Regions from separate parts of the Homo sapiens genome. Here region 2 is linked to region 1. The links are contacts of gene promoters, found by promoter capture Hi-C in blood cells and fetal thymus (Javierre and others, 2016). All regions are on one chromosome and are shown on one strand. Each heading gives the region's core, a stretch centred on a gene start or on the middle of the fragment in contact. The rest is flanking DNA. Distances are from core to core; before and after follow the strand shown. Region 1 holds the start of SGMS2 (sphingomyelin synthase 2). Region 2 overlaps HADH (hydroxyacyl-CoA dehydrogenase).

What was found. The method cuts DNA at HindIII sites, captures the fragments that hold promoters and counts their contacts. A CHiCAGO score of 5 or more calls a contact.
Region 2: a contact is called between a fragment that was not itself captured here and the fragment with the promoter of SGMS2 in region 1, in 1 of 17 cell types (M0 macrophages). The highest score is 5.9, in M0 macrophages.

What each region holds. Positions count from the first base shown.
Region 1 is chr4:107,820,690-107,828,623 of GRCh38, forward strand. SGMS2 (sphingomyelin synthase 2) reads left to right here and starts at 4,243. Exons shown (of 7, transcript NM_001375905.1): 1 at 4,243-4,564. RefSeq lists an enhancer at 6,461-7,660. The HindIII fragment of the contact is 3,698 bases long and covers 2,972-6,669 here.
Region 2 is chr4:107,992,557-108,000,490 of GRCh38, forward strand. All of the region lies in intron 1 of HADH (hydroxyacyl-CoA dehydrogenase), which reads left to right. Among named protein-coding and RNA genes, the nearest start is that of HADH, 6.6 kb to the left of the region's middle. The HindIII fragment of the contact is 5,569 bases long and covers 1,839-7,407 here.

The DNA.
Region 1 (7,934 bases), core at 2,993-5,492:
AGAAGTCATCTTTGGCTTCATCCTCATATCCCAACTGATCTGCAAATCCTGCAATAAACATCCTCATGCAAAATTAAAAAAAGAAAAACCTTTCAATTCCTGAGACATATGTTCGTTTAGAAGGTAACATGGTGATTCTTTTTCTTTTTCTTTTTTATTTTCTTTTGAGACAGAGTCTCGCTCTGTTGCCTAGGCTGGAGTGCAGTGAAAGGATCTTAGCTCATTGCAAACTCCCCCTCCCAGGGTCCAGCGATTTTCATGCCTCAGCCTCCTGAGTAGCTGGGATTACAGGCATGTGCTACCATGCCTGGCTAATTTTTTGTATTTTTAGTATAGACGGGGTTTCACTATGTTGGCCAGGTTGGTCTTGAACTCCTGGCCTGACGTGATCTGCCTGCCTTGGCCTCCCAAAGTGCTAGGATTATAGCCATGAGCCACTGTGCCCGGACCATGGAGATTCTTAGATAAACAGCCATGGGCACAAAGTAGGAATTCAATACAAATTTGTGGGTTGAGCAAATGACTTTAGATATGTTCAGATTCGAGTTACTGTAAGAGGAAATAAGTACTATAGATCTACATGTTTTCCTAAATCAGTATGTTTTATCAAATCAAAGAAATACCTGTAAAACTTGATTTATGCTGCCTTGGAGAAAACAATGGACAAGAACACACTTATCTATCATCCATTTCTCTCCCTTGAAACACTCAGTGCCATTATTTTTGAAAGGTGATGAATTGCAAATTTTGTCACTTTTCATACATGGTAAGAACAAAAGGTGCAGTTAAAAAACAAAAAAAAAATCATCTTTCTGTGAAAAGGATGTTACTATTTCTTAAAACATAGAAATTAAGATGAGTAATTTGCTTTCTCATATGTTGATAATGAATAGATTGAAAAAACTTCGTATCATCCATTATCAATTATATTATTTAATATATGTACTTGGGGATATTTAAATGGTATAATAAAATGACCTAATTACTTATTTCACAATATTTAAACTGAGGCACAATAGTAACCACTAATTCAAAACTACCCATTCAACAGCCTTCCACACAGAGGCTTATGAGGGAACTACAGGGTTTATATCAGCCAACAGTGCAGGCAGAACTGCAAGCTTTGTTTGGAGCTTTTTGACTTTATCCATGTACACAGGCCAAAAAGCCCACAATATCAATTGAGATCTGTAGAAAATTGTATTTAGACTTATCCCATAATGTCCAAATATTTGGATCATGAAGTAGGGAGTAGGTGGGATATTCACGCAAACTTACTTATAGATGGCTATACATTTGAATCTAGTCATTCAGTGTTACCAATGGATAGGACACCCATGCTTCTGAATTAGCTCTGTGATTGTCTATAAAAACTGCTGATTTGAATTTTGACTGCATCCTAGCAAACCAATCCATTTGCTATTGCCTTCTGGGCAAAATGCCTGGGCTTTGTAAATTTGAAAATGAGCTCCTTATTGAAGGGGAAAAATAAACCCCAGGACAATAACTTTCGATTGGTGGTCTCCTCTGGGTTCTAACCTTTAAAAGTAGCTCTAAAAGAGTCCATTTTCCACAACAATGATGTTGAGCCCTTGGTTAATTTTAGGAGCATTTTCATTTGGGGGAAACTTCTGTATTGTGACAACATCTTTTTTTGGTTTTATATTTTAAAAATTTGGGGGGACCGGGCACAGTGGCTCATGTCTGTAAATCCCAGCACTTTGCGAGGCCGAGAAGGGTGGATCGCAAGGTCAAGAGTTCGAGAACAGCCTGACTAACATGTTGAGACCCTGTCTCTGCTAAAAATACAAAAATTAGCCAGGGTTGGTGGCACACACCTGTAATCCCAGCTACTCGGGAGGCTGAGGCAGGAGAATTGCTTGAACCCAGGAGGTGGAGGTTGCAGTGAGCTGAGATTAAGCCACTGCACTCCAGCCCAGGCGACAGAGCAAGACTCCATCTCAAAAAAATTTTTTTAAATTTAATTTTTGTAGGTACATAGTAGGTATATTTATGGGGTACACACAATATTTTGATATAGGCACATAATGCATAATAATCACATCAGAGTAAATGGGATATCTACCATCTCAAACATTTATCCTTTCTTTATGTTACAAACCAATTATATTCTTAGTTATTTTAAAATGCACAATTACTGTTGCCTGTAGTTGCCCTGTTTTGCTATCAAATACTATACCTTATTCATTCTATCTAACTATATATATATTTTTTACCCATTACCCATCCCCCCTACCCTTCCCAGCCTCTGGTAACCATCATTCTACTGTCTCCATGAGTTCAATTGTTTTAAATGTTAGCTCCCATGAATAAGTGAGAACATGTGAAATTTGTCTTTCTGTGCCTGGCTTATTTCACTTAACATAATGACCTCTAGTTCCATCTATGTTGTTGCAAATGCCAGGATCTCATTCTTTGTTATGGCTGAATAGTACTCCATGGGTATATGTAACGATTTATCCATTCATCTGTTGATGGACACTTAGGTTGCTTCCAAACCTTGGCTATTGTGAGTAGTGCTGCAATAAACATAGGAGTGCAGGTATCTCTTTGATACACTGATTTCCTTTTTTGGGCATATATACCTAGCAGTGAGATTGCTAGGTCATACGGTATCTCTATTTTTAGTTTTATGAGGAACTTCCATACTGTTCTCCATAGTGGTTATACTTTTTACATTCCCACAAACACAAGGGTTCCTTTTTTTTTCCACAACCTCGCCAGTATTTATTGCCTGAGCACCTTTTCATATACCTGTTTGCTATTTGTATGTCTTCTTTTGAGAAATGTCTATTCAAATCTTTTGCCCATTTATTACTCGGACTATTAGATTTTTTTTTCCTATAGAGTTGTTGGAGCTCCTCATATATTCTGGTTATTAATCCCTTGTCAGATGGATAGTTCCCATTCTGTGGGTTGTCTCTTCAGTTTGTTTCCTTTGCTGTGCAGAAGCTTTTTAGCTTAATATGATCCCATTTGTCCATTTTCTTTGGTTGCCTGTACTGTGACGACATCTTGAAGTTGCGAGTTTGGGGATTGCCTGCCTTGTATATTCTTTTCTGTTACCATCATCTTTAATAGCCACAAATGACTGTTGACCCACATGATATCTGCACTAGAAACCCAAAGATTCCCGTCATTATTTTTGTTGATTATATGGAAGCACCCATAAACCAGCGCAAATCCTAAACATAATTATCTTGTCCAGAAGGAGACATTAATGTAAAACTTATGTCAAGAAAGATTTAGCCACATTCCCTCGGATTGGTCATTCCTAGTTAGAGTCCTTGAGGCTGCCATCGTTTACTTTGAAAACTGCCCAGCAGGTGTATGAATAGCAACTCCAGGACAATGTAGAACCATTACCATTTTAAAGACAGCAATCCCCCTTTTAAAAAACTACTGAGGCCTTCGAAGAAACCACACGGCTGCCTTGGGCCCCAAAAGCTGCGGAAAAGCGCAGTATTCAGTTAAGCAAATAACTACTTACACTGTTTATTTTGGTTACGATTCCTTAAGTGAGAAGTAAATCAATTAACAGGACAAATGACACGATGGTTAGGCACGAAAGGGACAGTGCTGCCACCTCATTAGCTTGGAGCAACCTTCCAGCTCATACCATGCGGACTGATGACTAACCTTGCCAGGCAACGCTGTGAGGTTTGGAAACCCACCTCTTTGACCTAGGCCCGGTCAACACCGATAAACCCTCTGAATCAACGCTGGCGCTCCCAAGCCCACTCACACGCCGTCAGGAAGCAGTTTCCGAAACAGGCCGGGTGCGGGGGTGGGGGATCCCGTTCCAGCCCCACCCCTGAAAGTTGCTGGGAGTGGCACCCAAAGAACTTTCCCAGATTGATCTCTGTTGCCGCTCAGGGAGGTCAGCTCCAGGCCCTCAGCCTTTCGGCCGGGAGCCAAACTGCCCTGCCTGCCAAGCCCCTCCTTCTCTGCACCTTAAACAGCCGCGAGGGGAGAGTCGGCTGGGATTTTCTTCTTAAGAAGTCGCGCAGGTTTTTCGAGCTCCACTCTGCGCCAGGAGAGCCACGGCAGCAGGAACGGGCACTGCTGCCACCGGGCCGACGGGTGAGTCACTGTTTGGAAATGGAGTGGGCGGGCGAGGGTGTGAGAGAATGAATGATGTCAAGAGCGCGCTGGGCGCAGGGCGCAGGGAGCGGGCCGCGCGCGGCGGGCGGGGAGAGCGGGCGCGGGGCCGCGGTCAACACTGAGCGCCGCGCCGTGGGCCGAGTGGGGCGGGGAGACCCAGCCCTCGGCGCGCACGGAGCCTGGCCGGTGCTGCAGCGCCGCCGAGTGCGGCCTCGGGGGCGGCGGCCGCGGGAGGGACCCGGAGAGCTGCTTCCCCTAGTCAGGCCGCGGCGTGGGAGGGCGAGACCCCGAGCAAACTTTCTAGCGGCTTCGGCCCGAGGGTGGTGACGCCCGGGGCTGGTCGCGGCGGCTGCGGCAGCGGGCTCCATCCCCTGGCAAATCCCCTTCCCGGGAGCAAGTGCCTTCAGCTGGGAGTGTCTGGAGCCCTGGCCACCAGCGGGTAAGGAGCGCGCGGAGGGGCCAGGAGGAGGATGGGCTGGGGAGCGGAGAGTCCTCCGAAGCGCGGGAGGGGAAAGGTGGATTGCGAAGCGGGGACGTGGCTCTAATCCGGCCCCCACCCTCCCCGCCCAGGGCATGCTTCCTCGATTTTGTGGTCTGGAGGAGAGATGTGTGCCTTAGTCTCCTTCCTCTGAGCAGTCATCTCATTCATTTGCAACCCATTTCGGGTACCCCGGTCCTGGCGTTGGAAGGGCACAGGTTAAACCCCAGATTGTCCAGAACCACTCCGGAGGTCAGGGCTGAAGTTCAGTTGGTGGAGGAGGGACTGTGTGTGTGTGTTTGTGTGTGTGGTTTTTCTTTTCTTTCTCTTTTTTTTTTTTTTTTTTTTTGAGAGGCACTTACTGATGATGTGTGAACAGTAACAGCCCAGCTCTGGGCAGCCCACACCGAAACCCTTCAACGTGTGGCATTCCAGAGCTGCTCCCTTTACGGAAGGGAAGACTTGGTTTCTCAGCGAAAATAAGGGGCGGGGAACCCCTGTCAACATCCATCCAGAGGTATGGATAATCATTAATTATCCACGGCTTGAAACCAACTCAAAATGTTATGTCCTGTAGTCTTTTTTATTTATTAATGTTGCCGGTCCTCTATTTCAAGTCTTGCCTGCTCTGAAATGACCTTAAAATCATTTTGACATGTGTGTTATATTTTGAAGAGATTCAACTGTTTAGTGTCACTGGATTCGGCGTGGGTTTTCAATCTGTACCTAACTTTTCAAATCCTTGGTTTCATTACCAGTCTCCTCTATTAACGGTGGGTGCTCAGGCACATTAAACATTCTGAACCAGTAAAATGGGATTATAGCTACTTCAGATAATAAGGTGGATTAAATAAGGATTAATAATGAGGATAATAATGAGGATTAAAGCGCAAAAGACTTCTCATAATGTCTGGTACAAAGCAGACCCCAACAAATTATAGCTGTTTATATATAAATAATAGTGTGTTGCAGCTGGCTTAGGTAATAACCAATTAATTTCCACAGAATGTCCTCCTTATAAGCCTGGTGGGCCGAGGGTTAGCATGTGAAATCCTTTGGCAAGTTCCTTAGATTGGGAAGTGATGTTTTCAGCAAGTTAAACATTTTTAGTACGGATACCTGAGAAGGTTATGGTTTCCATCCTGTGTCATGGGAACTGCCATTTACTGTTTAAACAATGTCAGAGCAATGGCTGAAAGTGACAACCTGGAATTTACAGGAAGAAAGGACGTGAGGAAGCTAACTTTACCTTTACCTTTTTTTTTTCCTAAAGAAGCAGTGCAAGCAGTGCAAAATTTCCTCTTTATGGCCCTTTCCTTGGTCTTCTAATGTTCTTACTTCACAATAGTCTGGTTGAAGTGTTTTTTTTTTTAACAAGTTAATGTTTAATTTGGTTCCTTTGGTTTCATTTTTAAGTAAAGCTAGTTGACTTGTGAACCTAGAGGGAAACACTTGGACACCTTGAGGTGGCTGCACCTTGTTCTGAGTTTCTCCCCTCGCAGAATCTCATAAAAGCCCTAGGAAATGTTTGGAAGAAACTTTAGCACTTGTGCACGTTATTGAAGACATTTGCTCTTACCATAACTATAACAACTTACAGGGTGAAAGATCTGGGAGCTGTCCTACGACAGTACCGTGTAGTGAGATCATGGACATGGGAATCCAGGAGACCTGAGGCTCTCTGAGCTGTGTTCCTTTGAGCAAGTTTACTTAAACTCTTTGGGATTTTTGTGGGACTTTAAACAAAATATAGGGGAAAAATAGAAATAATCTTAGAACTATTAAAATAGACAATGGAGTATCAGTGAGAACTTTTTTTAAAAGTGATGCTTTGAGGTGAGATGTTTCTTTTTTAAAGGAATAATTACTGAGAGTTTTGGACAGTTTTAGACTAAACAATGACTTACCCACCTTTAGCGTGTTGTCTCAATGGAGAAATTGAAGGCTTTGTCTTGAACTACTAGTATCAGATATTTATTTGCTTAACGTTTAGTATGCAACAACTACATAACAGCCACTGTGCTAGGGGCCAGCAATGCAAACGAAGGAGATAGTTGCTACCCCAAAGCTTATAGTCCAGTAGAGACCTCAGGCTGTGATTATCAAGAGGGGAAAAAAGGAGTCAAAAAAGGAGAGTGCTGGGGACTTGGGAAGAGACAAGAAGTGATTAGGCCGTCATAGGCTGCCTCCCACTGATAATAAGAGATCTGGTGGCATTCTGAATGGTCTTGAATAGGGGCTCGTAAATTCTTTATGAGGCCGAATAATAAAAGTATGCCTTGCTTTACACAGTAAAATATTACGGACAAGTGATAGCTCTTCAGTTTAAATAATTTTAAATATTCAAAGCAAGCTTGTTTAAATGAAATCTGAAGGGTCAGCTCAGCTCAACTGAGATATATTTGCTGTGTGGCTGGGTGCAGTGGCTCACACCTGTAATTCCAGCACTTTGGGAGGCCGAGGCAGGCAGATCACTTGACGTCAGAAGTTCAAGAGCAGCCTGGCCAATATGGTAAAACTCCATCTCTACTAAAAATAGAAAAATTAGCCGGGCATGTTGGTGCTCGCCTGTAGTCCCAGATACTCGGGAGGCTGACGCAGGAGAATCGCTTGAACCTGGGAGGTGGAGGTTGCAGTGAGCTGAGATTGCGTCACTGCACTCCAGCCTGGGTGACAGAGCTAGACTCTGTCTCAAAACAAAACAAAACAAAACAAAAAAAGATTTATTTGCTGTGAACAAAACACTATGGTAGATTTTTAAGAGGATTATCCTTGTATGAGTATTCCAACTTATTAGTTTTCCCCATATTATAAGTAATGTGTTACTTATGGAAATTTATAAGTATAGGCAAAACAAATCAGCCATAATCTCACCACCCAGAAAATCATTTAACATTTCTATCTGCCCCCTCTTTATATTTTGCCCCTATGCACAGATAACACAAACAGCTAACGAGTATTGATCTTACTATGGGCCAGGCAACGTGACAGTTGCTTTATACATCAAATCTCTTGTAATCCCCACTCCAACCCGGTGAGGTAGGTACTCTTATTACCTTCTTTTACTGAGGATACAACTGTTTTAGGGAAATTAAGTAACTTTCCTGAAGTTGCAGCAGCTGAAATTTATCTCTACAAAAATGGGTTCATTCTCTATGTTCCAACTTACGTTTTCTCTCCTCATCCAAACATGGACAACTGTATGTCACTAACATACTCTTACACAGCATCATTTTTAGTTTTCTGTTTTGTGGCTGTGTCTCAACCAGTCCCCTATCGCTGAACACTTAGTTTGTTGCCAGTGTTCACTATTTTAAGCAGCTCTGCATTA
Region 2 (7,934 bases), core at 3,373-5,872, 170 kb after region 1:
TGGGCTACAGTTCAATATAAGAAGTTGGATGGTCTGCATGCTAGCTCTGCCTCATGCAGTATTAACATGGGACTTTACCTCTGTGTCTCGGTTTTCTCATCTCTAAAGTAGACTAATGCTAGTACTGGCCTCGTAGGGAGAGAATTGAATAAATTCAATGAATTCATGCATATGTCAAGCAGTTACATATATCAAGCATATGTCAAGCACTTACACAGTGTCTGGCATGTAATAAGAGTTCACAGAAAGTTAGCTGCCTTTATAATAATTATCTTCGGCCCGGCATGGTGGCTCAAGCCTGTAATCCCAGCACTTTGGGAGGCTGAGGGGGGCAGATCATCTGAGGTCAGGAGTTCAAGACCAGCCTGGCCAATATGGTGAAACCCTGTCTCTACTAAAAATACAAAAAAATTAGCCAGCATGGTGGCATGTGCCTGTGGTCCCACCTACTTGGAAGGCTGTGGCAGAATAGTCTCTTGAACCTGAGAGGTGGAGGTTGCAGTGAGCCGAGATCGCACCACTGCACTGTAGCCTGGGCAACAGAGCGAGACTCCGTCTCAAAAAGATAAATAAAAAGAATAATCATCATCTTCATTGCAGTTGTCCTGTCCTTTTGCCCTTTTCCCCTCATATCCACTCCCATCCTGATCACAGCTGCTGAGGTAGGCCTGTAAGGTTTAGATGGAGAATATTGGTCATGATTCCCTGTTTCATCTTGCTTAATCTTGAATGCATATACCCGCTGATGCTGCAGCGGGTATGTTTTTTCAGGGACCTCTGAAAGGAGGGAGAACACTTTTTAGTTACCCCCCATTTTATTGTTAAACTTTAGTAAAGCCATAAAAGTACAATCACAAACTAGTATTGAGGTTATGTTACTGATTTTCATTAGCTTAATTTTCTTGAACTTTCTGACGTGGTTTTAATGTTAGTCAAGGTGCAGTTCTGCTTATAATTTTAATAGTTTTGTCATTTTAAACACGTCAGTTTGTGCTCAGAAGGATGAAAAAATATTTAAATAGATTTTGTGGGAGCCTGATGCATTTCTCAAGCAATTAAGCAATTTAAGACAAGTTCAGTGCTTAATTACATTTGATCAGAGCACAGGCCATTTGTACATGTGTATTTTCCGAGAGTATCTACTTTGCCTGTCATTTCTTTTGTTTGTTTTAAATTAAAAAAACAAAAAATCCCTTAGACTGCAGGTTAATATTTGAAGTTAACTTGTTTCATGTGTTTGCTTATTACACACTTCTGACTTGGTTTTGATTGCTAATTTATCTTCACTGGATACTTAGGCCAATAAAGAAGCTTATAGGATTAAATGAGCCTTGAGTGGGGGACAGGTTGTTTTTTTGCTTTATAAAGAGGAAAACAAGAAAGGAAGAAAGCTGGTAGCTGTGTGCATTTCTCCAGTATTGAATCCTTTCTAGGCTTTGCTTCATACATTGGGTTTTTTCATATGAGGAGCCCAGAGAGAATGCATAGCTTTCATTAGATTACTTGTGAGGAGCCAGTGGGCTCCCTGGGAACGGGGCACTTCAGATGTCCCCCTTGAGACACTTTACATGCTCTCCGGGTGCAACCTTCTTTTTAGTGCACTACTCTTCTTTGAGGAAGTGAGAAAGTTTGCATCTTAAAGGGGGTTGGGGATAGGTTCTTCTCTCCCAAAGCTTGCTTTTTTTTTTTCCTCCTTTTTAAAAAGCAGAAAGTGCATATTTTTTCTAGAGAGAGCTTCTTTGGCTATTAAAAACAAAGTAAGGGCAGGGAGAGCCTGCTACGTTGCAGGGATTTTGTGTGACTCTACCATGCTTGATAAGGATTCAGGTAGACCTGAAAGCTTCTCCCCAGCCACTGGATTTGTTCTCTCATCTCTTCTTCTTGCCCCCAAATCTGCATTTTCTGATGCTGAAAAAGAGAATGATCAGAGTTGTTTCATATTTTTTTAGCTTTATTCTCTTCTACTGTGAGTACAGCTCTGTTGAGCTGTACAGTACAGTACTGCTTTGCTTGCAAAGCAGTACAGATGCCTAGGAGAAGTTTCAGGATCACAGGAGACCAGCAGTTACCTGGCTGTAAGCTCTCCTTTTGACTGTTCCTTATGGAGGGAATATTTGTACTCCCAGTTGTTACCTTCCTGCTGAAGGACATGAGATGTGTCTGTTTGTTATGAAGTTTTCCCCCTACTTCCCGAGTTGTTGCTTATCTTTGTTGGGCTGTTCTCTGCTCTTGGTTGAGGTACTGGGATGTAGAACCACCCTCTATTAGCATATTAGTTATTGGACTCTGGGTGAGGTTGGAGATACTGTCATTCCTAGAGGGTAGAAGAGGTAGGGCTCACAGGCAACAGAAAATAATGCTATGGGATATGTTTGGACATTTTTTAGAGCAGAAATGGCACTTCAGTCAGTCAGGTTTTGGCATTTTCCTGCCATGTTCTGCCTCCAGCTTTAATCACTTGCCCCTTGCTTGAGTTTCTTCTTTCTTCCCCTCTCCCTTCTCTCTTATCTGTGGTAGGCACACACACCTCACTCTCTAGTTCTCCTGGGACCACAGGAAGATAATGTGGATGTTCTCTGTGGCTCCCCCTGTTATATTCATGATGTTATTATTTCTGGTAGTGGTATTCTAATCTCAAAAGTACAGGCTATGAGGTCCCTGCCAGGGTTTAGATGCTAGCCTTCCTATCCTGCCTTTAGGAACCTTGGGCAAATCACTTAACTCCTCTCTGCCTCTTTACTTACCTGGGAATAATGAGACTCACCTGACAGCTGTGAAAGTTAAATGAACTAATATACAAGCTCCTAGAATAGCATTAGTGTGTTTGATAGTAACTGTCTGATAAATATTAGCTGCTTTCACATAGACCCATCAGACCTGATCTAGTGAGGATTTCTCTTAGATTGTCTTCACTGTCGGAAGAGTTTTGATATAGGGAGTTCCAGCAATTCTAAAGATGTTAAGACTTATTTATGTGGGTTGTTGAGAAAGATAGTGTACCATTTACTGGTTTTTGTAGAGCTAAAACCACTCTACAAAATATGACACTTTATTCTGTTCAAAGAATTTTGATTTATTTAATTTCATGTGACCATTACAATAATCACCCCTGCAGAGATGGTTCCTGGGGTCAATGGTCAGAGGCAGAGCTGGGGTTAGAACTTGAGTTCTCTTCTGTTCTGCTGCCTGTAAATCCCCAAGCCTGAATTCAGTTCTGCCTGCACCTCTGGCAAGTGCTGTATTGTGGGGAGAAGTGTGGCATCCATGGCAGGGGATCCTCTGTGGCTCTCTGGAATCAGTACATCCCAGGTTGACGTCTCCTTGGCTCTGGACTCAAAGTTAGTCTACCTGCTGGTCGTCTACATCAGGGTGCTGTGCTGCCATCCTTCTGCCCATGGTAGACTCAAACTCACCTGCCAAGATCTAATTCATTATTTCCCCTCCAGCTTTTTCCAGAGAGCTTGCCCCTCCTGTTGCTGCAGTTGTTCTTCCAGCCACATGTACTCTGAAGATGGGATCACAATCAGTGTCTCCATACCAGAAAAGGCTCTGTAACTTTTTGGTCATGGGAGAGCTCTTTCCTCTGCCCTCTCCTTTGCAGTTCCTAGACCAGGTGTGTTAACCTGAATTGTCATGGGAGCCTCTTAATTGGTCCTTTCAGCAAAAACTAAAAGAAAAAACCCACTCATCATGGCAAACATTGTCATATTAGTCTTCCTGGAGAGGCATTTGGATTTATAACTCTCCTCTACCCGGAAAGTGTCCATCATAGCAACATCTTCCAGGGATTCTTAAATATAACGATGCTGTTGACATGTCTGGTTATCCCTTTACCTTTTCAGAATTTGTGGGAGGTGAGAAGTCTGGGAGAGGTTATCTGGGTTATTATGAAACCTACACACTTACTGAATTAAAAAAAAACTATGTAACACAATTCTAGTCTAAAAATGGGCGCACACTTTCTTTGCCTTTTAGAAATACTTTTTGAAATGTAAAATTCGAAGTCTAATAAAGGAGTCTGTCCAATTAATTTAACTGTTTGAAGAAAAAAACCAGTCCAGGCATGGTGGCTTACGCCTGTAATCCCATCACTTTGGGAGGCTGAGGCGAGCAGATCACTTGAAGTCAGGAGTTCGAGACTAGCCTGGCCAACAAAGTTAAACCCTGTCTCTACTAAAAATACAAAAATTAGCTGAGCATGGTGACACATGCCTGCAGTCCCAGCTATTCAGGAGACTGAGGTGGAAGAATTGCTTGAACCCAGGAGGCGGAGGATGCAGTGAGCCAAGATCACACCACTACACTGCAGCCTGGCCAACAGAGCAAGACTCCTTCTCAAAAAAAAAAAAAAAAAGAACAAACCAGCTGGTTGTGGTGGTGGTGGTTGACATCCTCAACAGAACAGCTTTTGCTAATTGTTGAAGTCAGGGAAGACAACTTGTGCTGATGGCAGAGTTCAAGACATTACACAACCAGAGACAATCATAAACCCAGAAATGCCAGCCCTGAGAGATGCAACTGATGTATGACTTTTTTCCTCTCTGGATCAAACCATGACAACCGTAAAAGGCAGGCCTTGCTGTTAAGGCGCTGCAGCCTCTGAAGCACAGTTGGCCTCAGGGAGCTCTGACTCAGTCTACTTATTCTGGGGATCTGAAGAAAGTCAGAAATCATGTGTGGTAGATAGTTTGCATAACTTTGGGATTTTCCAGAGAGAGGATGAAAACGGTGGCCCTCCTTGTAATGTCTAGGCACATGGGACATCCAGTGGAACTGTTGAGGGAGGAGATGGGAGGGAGACCAGTCACCAGACCAGTTGATGTAGGTCTCATAGACTCACCACTCAAGTTGTGCTTCGGAGAAAGCTGCTTCAAATCTTCTTGATACATTTACAAAGATAAATAAATCCAGTGTGCTTCTGCTTGGCATGTTTACTTGGTCCTGTGGTCAGAGTGCTCTGGGGCTTTGACAAATGTGCTAGTCACTTAGCCTATTTTTACAACTCTGAAGCAGCCGTGTCTAAAAATATTTCCTCTCTGGCTGAGCCTGCCTTCCACCAGGCCTAGAAAAGTCATGGAGCTGAGGACATAGCCTTCAAATATTTTTTTTTCCATTGCAGACTGCTTGTCCTCAAGGTCTTACCAGCATGTAGGTCACTGTAATATAAAACATGAGTTCTCAATGGATTGATTTAAATTGTGGTCACTCAAACTGCCAGGAAGAGTCCTCCTCATTTGTTGTAAAAATAACAGATGTCTATGAAAGGAGAAGAAGAAGGCCTTTCTTTTTTTGCAGTTCATTTCTCCACTGCCTTCTCCATCCCAGAAAGTTGGCGGTAACTTGGGTGTTACTGAATTACTCAGGAGAATGAATTGTACTTGTTTCTCTGTAGTTATTTTCTAAATAAGAGGTTACGTTATCAGGAGAGGCCATCAGCTACAGCAGTGGAAAGAGCCACCAGGTCTCATCTTGACTTTACCAACAAATGTCTTTATTCAGTCAACATTCCCTGAGGGCCAGCCACAGCCAGGCAGGGTCTAGGTTCTCAGTGTACAAAGATGAATGACATTTGGTCAGGAGCCTACAGTAGAGGAGTTCAGATTACTATAACACAGTTTGGTAGGTGCTGTGGTACACAGATGCAGGGATGTTACAGGGCATATGGGGGACATCTAGCTTAGGGCTGAGAGGATCTTGGGGAGTAGGCTTACTAACTGGAAATGATTGTTTTGTTTTGTTTTGAGACAGAGTCTCTCTCTATCACCCAGGCTAGAGTGCAGAGGCGTGATCTTGGCTCACTGCAGTGTCCACCTCCCAGGTTCAAGCAATTCTTCTGCCTCAGCCTCCTGAGGAGCTGGCATTGCAGGCGTGCACCACCATGCCTGGCTAATTTTTGTATTTTTAGTAGAGACAGGGTTTCACCATGTTGGTCAGGCTGGTCTCTAACTCCCGACCTCATGATCTGCCCGCCTTAGCCTCCCAAAGTCCTGGGATTGCAAGTGTGAGCTACCGCGCCCGGCTGATTTTTAGGCTTAGTTAATAGGTGAAGTTGGGGAGAAGGTGAGGCCAAGAGAAGGGCTGGAGTTGAGAGGCAGATGTAGGGAGCTACTGGCCTTGTGGTGGTGTTAAGACTGTCATGCATGAGGCAATAGTTGTGTTCTTTTTGTTTTTTTGTTTTTTTTTCTTAGTAATAGCCATCCTAATGGGTATGAGATCAGAGGTTTTTAACATTATACTGTGATGGACATTAGAGATTTCATGAATCTCCTTCATGGTTCCCGAAAGGTTGGTAAAGATTCCTTCTCTGACCTTTGTTGTACATATTGGTCTTCAATATGCATTCTTATGGAAAAAGGTGTTCATGGCTAAAACATTTGAGAGCCGCCACACTGAATGATCTCTGGGTTGTCTTCCTCCTCTCAAAATTGATGATCCTGATTATCTGTAGCTAATAAGCCTGAACAATAAATGCTTTCGCCAATCTCTTAAAGTAGTTGAGAAGCTAGGTGTGTTAGTTTCCCTTCTGTGATAGAGAAGAAACCTGTGTTGGAGAGCAGTGAGCTTATGTGTCTGTGGCCATCTCTGACCTGATTCACACATGTGCCCCTCACAGACAGGCACAGACACAGGGTTGGCATGCCTCTAGCCTTACAGCCTCTTGGATGAAAGGTATAAGACACATTCACATGTTGGAGTGAATTAAGCACACATCCATTTTGAAATCACAGGGCTGGATACCACTTAAAGAATATTGATCTTGCATTGGGCAACGCATAGCAACTGCCCTACATTTCCCCTTTTACCTAGCGTCACAACCACCAGTACTAGAAAGCAGTTAATCTGCTCACCAAAATAACAGAGAGAGACTTTAGTGGCATTTTTTCCACTTGGTAATTGACTAGACTCTGGCTATTAGCTCCTTTTTTTTCCTTACTATCCTTTTCAAACTAATAACGTGACTTCTCATAATTTTAAAGTAACTTGATGCTTACACAAAGTTTATCATAAAGGTTTCTAGCAACAAAACCAGTCATGACTTCTTGAGAACTTATTTCTAAAATAATTTACAAATTGAGACTTATGAAAAAATAGCTCTGTCATTCAAGTGTTCATTTCATGAGTATGAAATATCTCCCTTGTGCTAGACATCAGGCCAGGTAAAAAGTAAGATGTGATTGCTGCTCTTGAGAAACCTACTGTCTAGTGGAAGAAATACAGGTATGAACAACTAATTGTAATGAAGGCACAGACAGCCTACCTGTCATATCTGGGATTTGATCTGAAACAGATGAAAGTTATAATAGTTTACATACCTTACCTTAAAGTATGGTTTTTAAATACTTAAGATGTGATATGACATATAGTGTGTATATATATCTTATGCTAAGGAAAAAGGGACATTAAAAAAGCTTATGTTAAAAGATATATGTATACATTGTACTGCCTGTATGTTTGTGAAATTTGTATTTACTGGAAATTCTCATTGGCCTGTAGATAGGAGTGTTCCTAAGCACCCTATATTGGGATTTGTGGTAACAGCAGCTTGACAACCTGAAGTGGATGATGCAACAGCACTTTTGAAAGGTCTCTCCGTACTATCTTGATTTCATCATCTAAAGTTGGTGTTGGCAAAGAGAAGATAAGTGTTTAGGGTGTTGGATATCCCAGTTACCCTGATTTGATCATTACACATTTTAGGCAGGTATCAAAATGTCACATGTACCCCAAAAGTATGTACAGCTATTACATATCAGTTTTTTAAAGAAGAAAAGGTTGGTATGGTTAGCTTTTCTATTTCAAGTGTATCATTCATCTTTCACATCTGGGATTTCTCCTATGCTCTGGTTGGTTAATAACTTTTATTCTGAAATCGGTGAGATTCTTATGACATGAAATAGTCTATAACCAGTTAAGTTTTTATTTCTCTGTTCTGT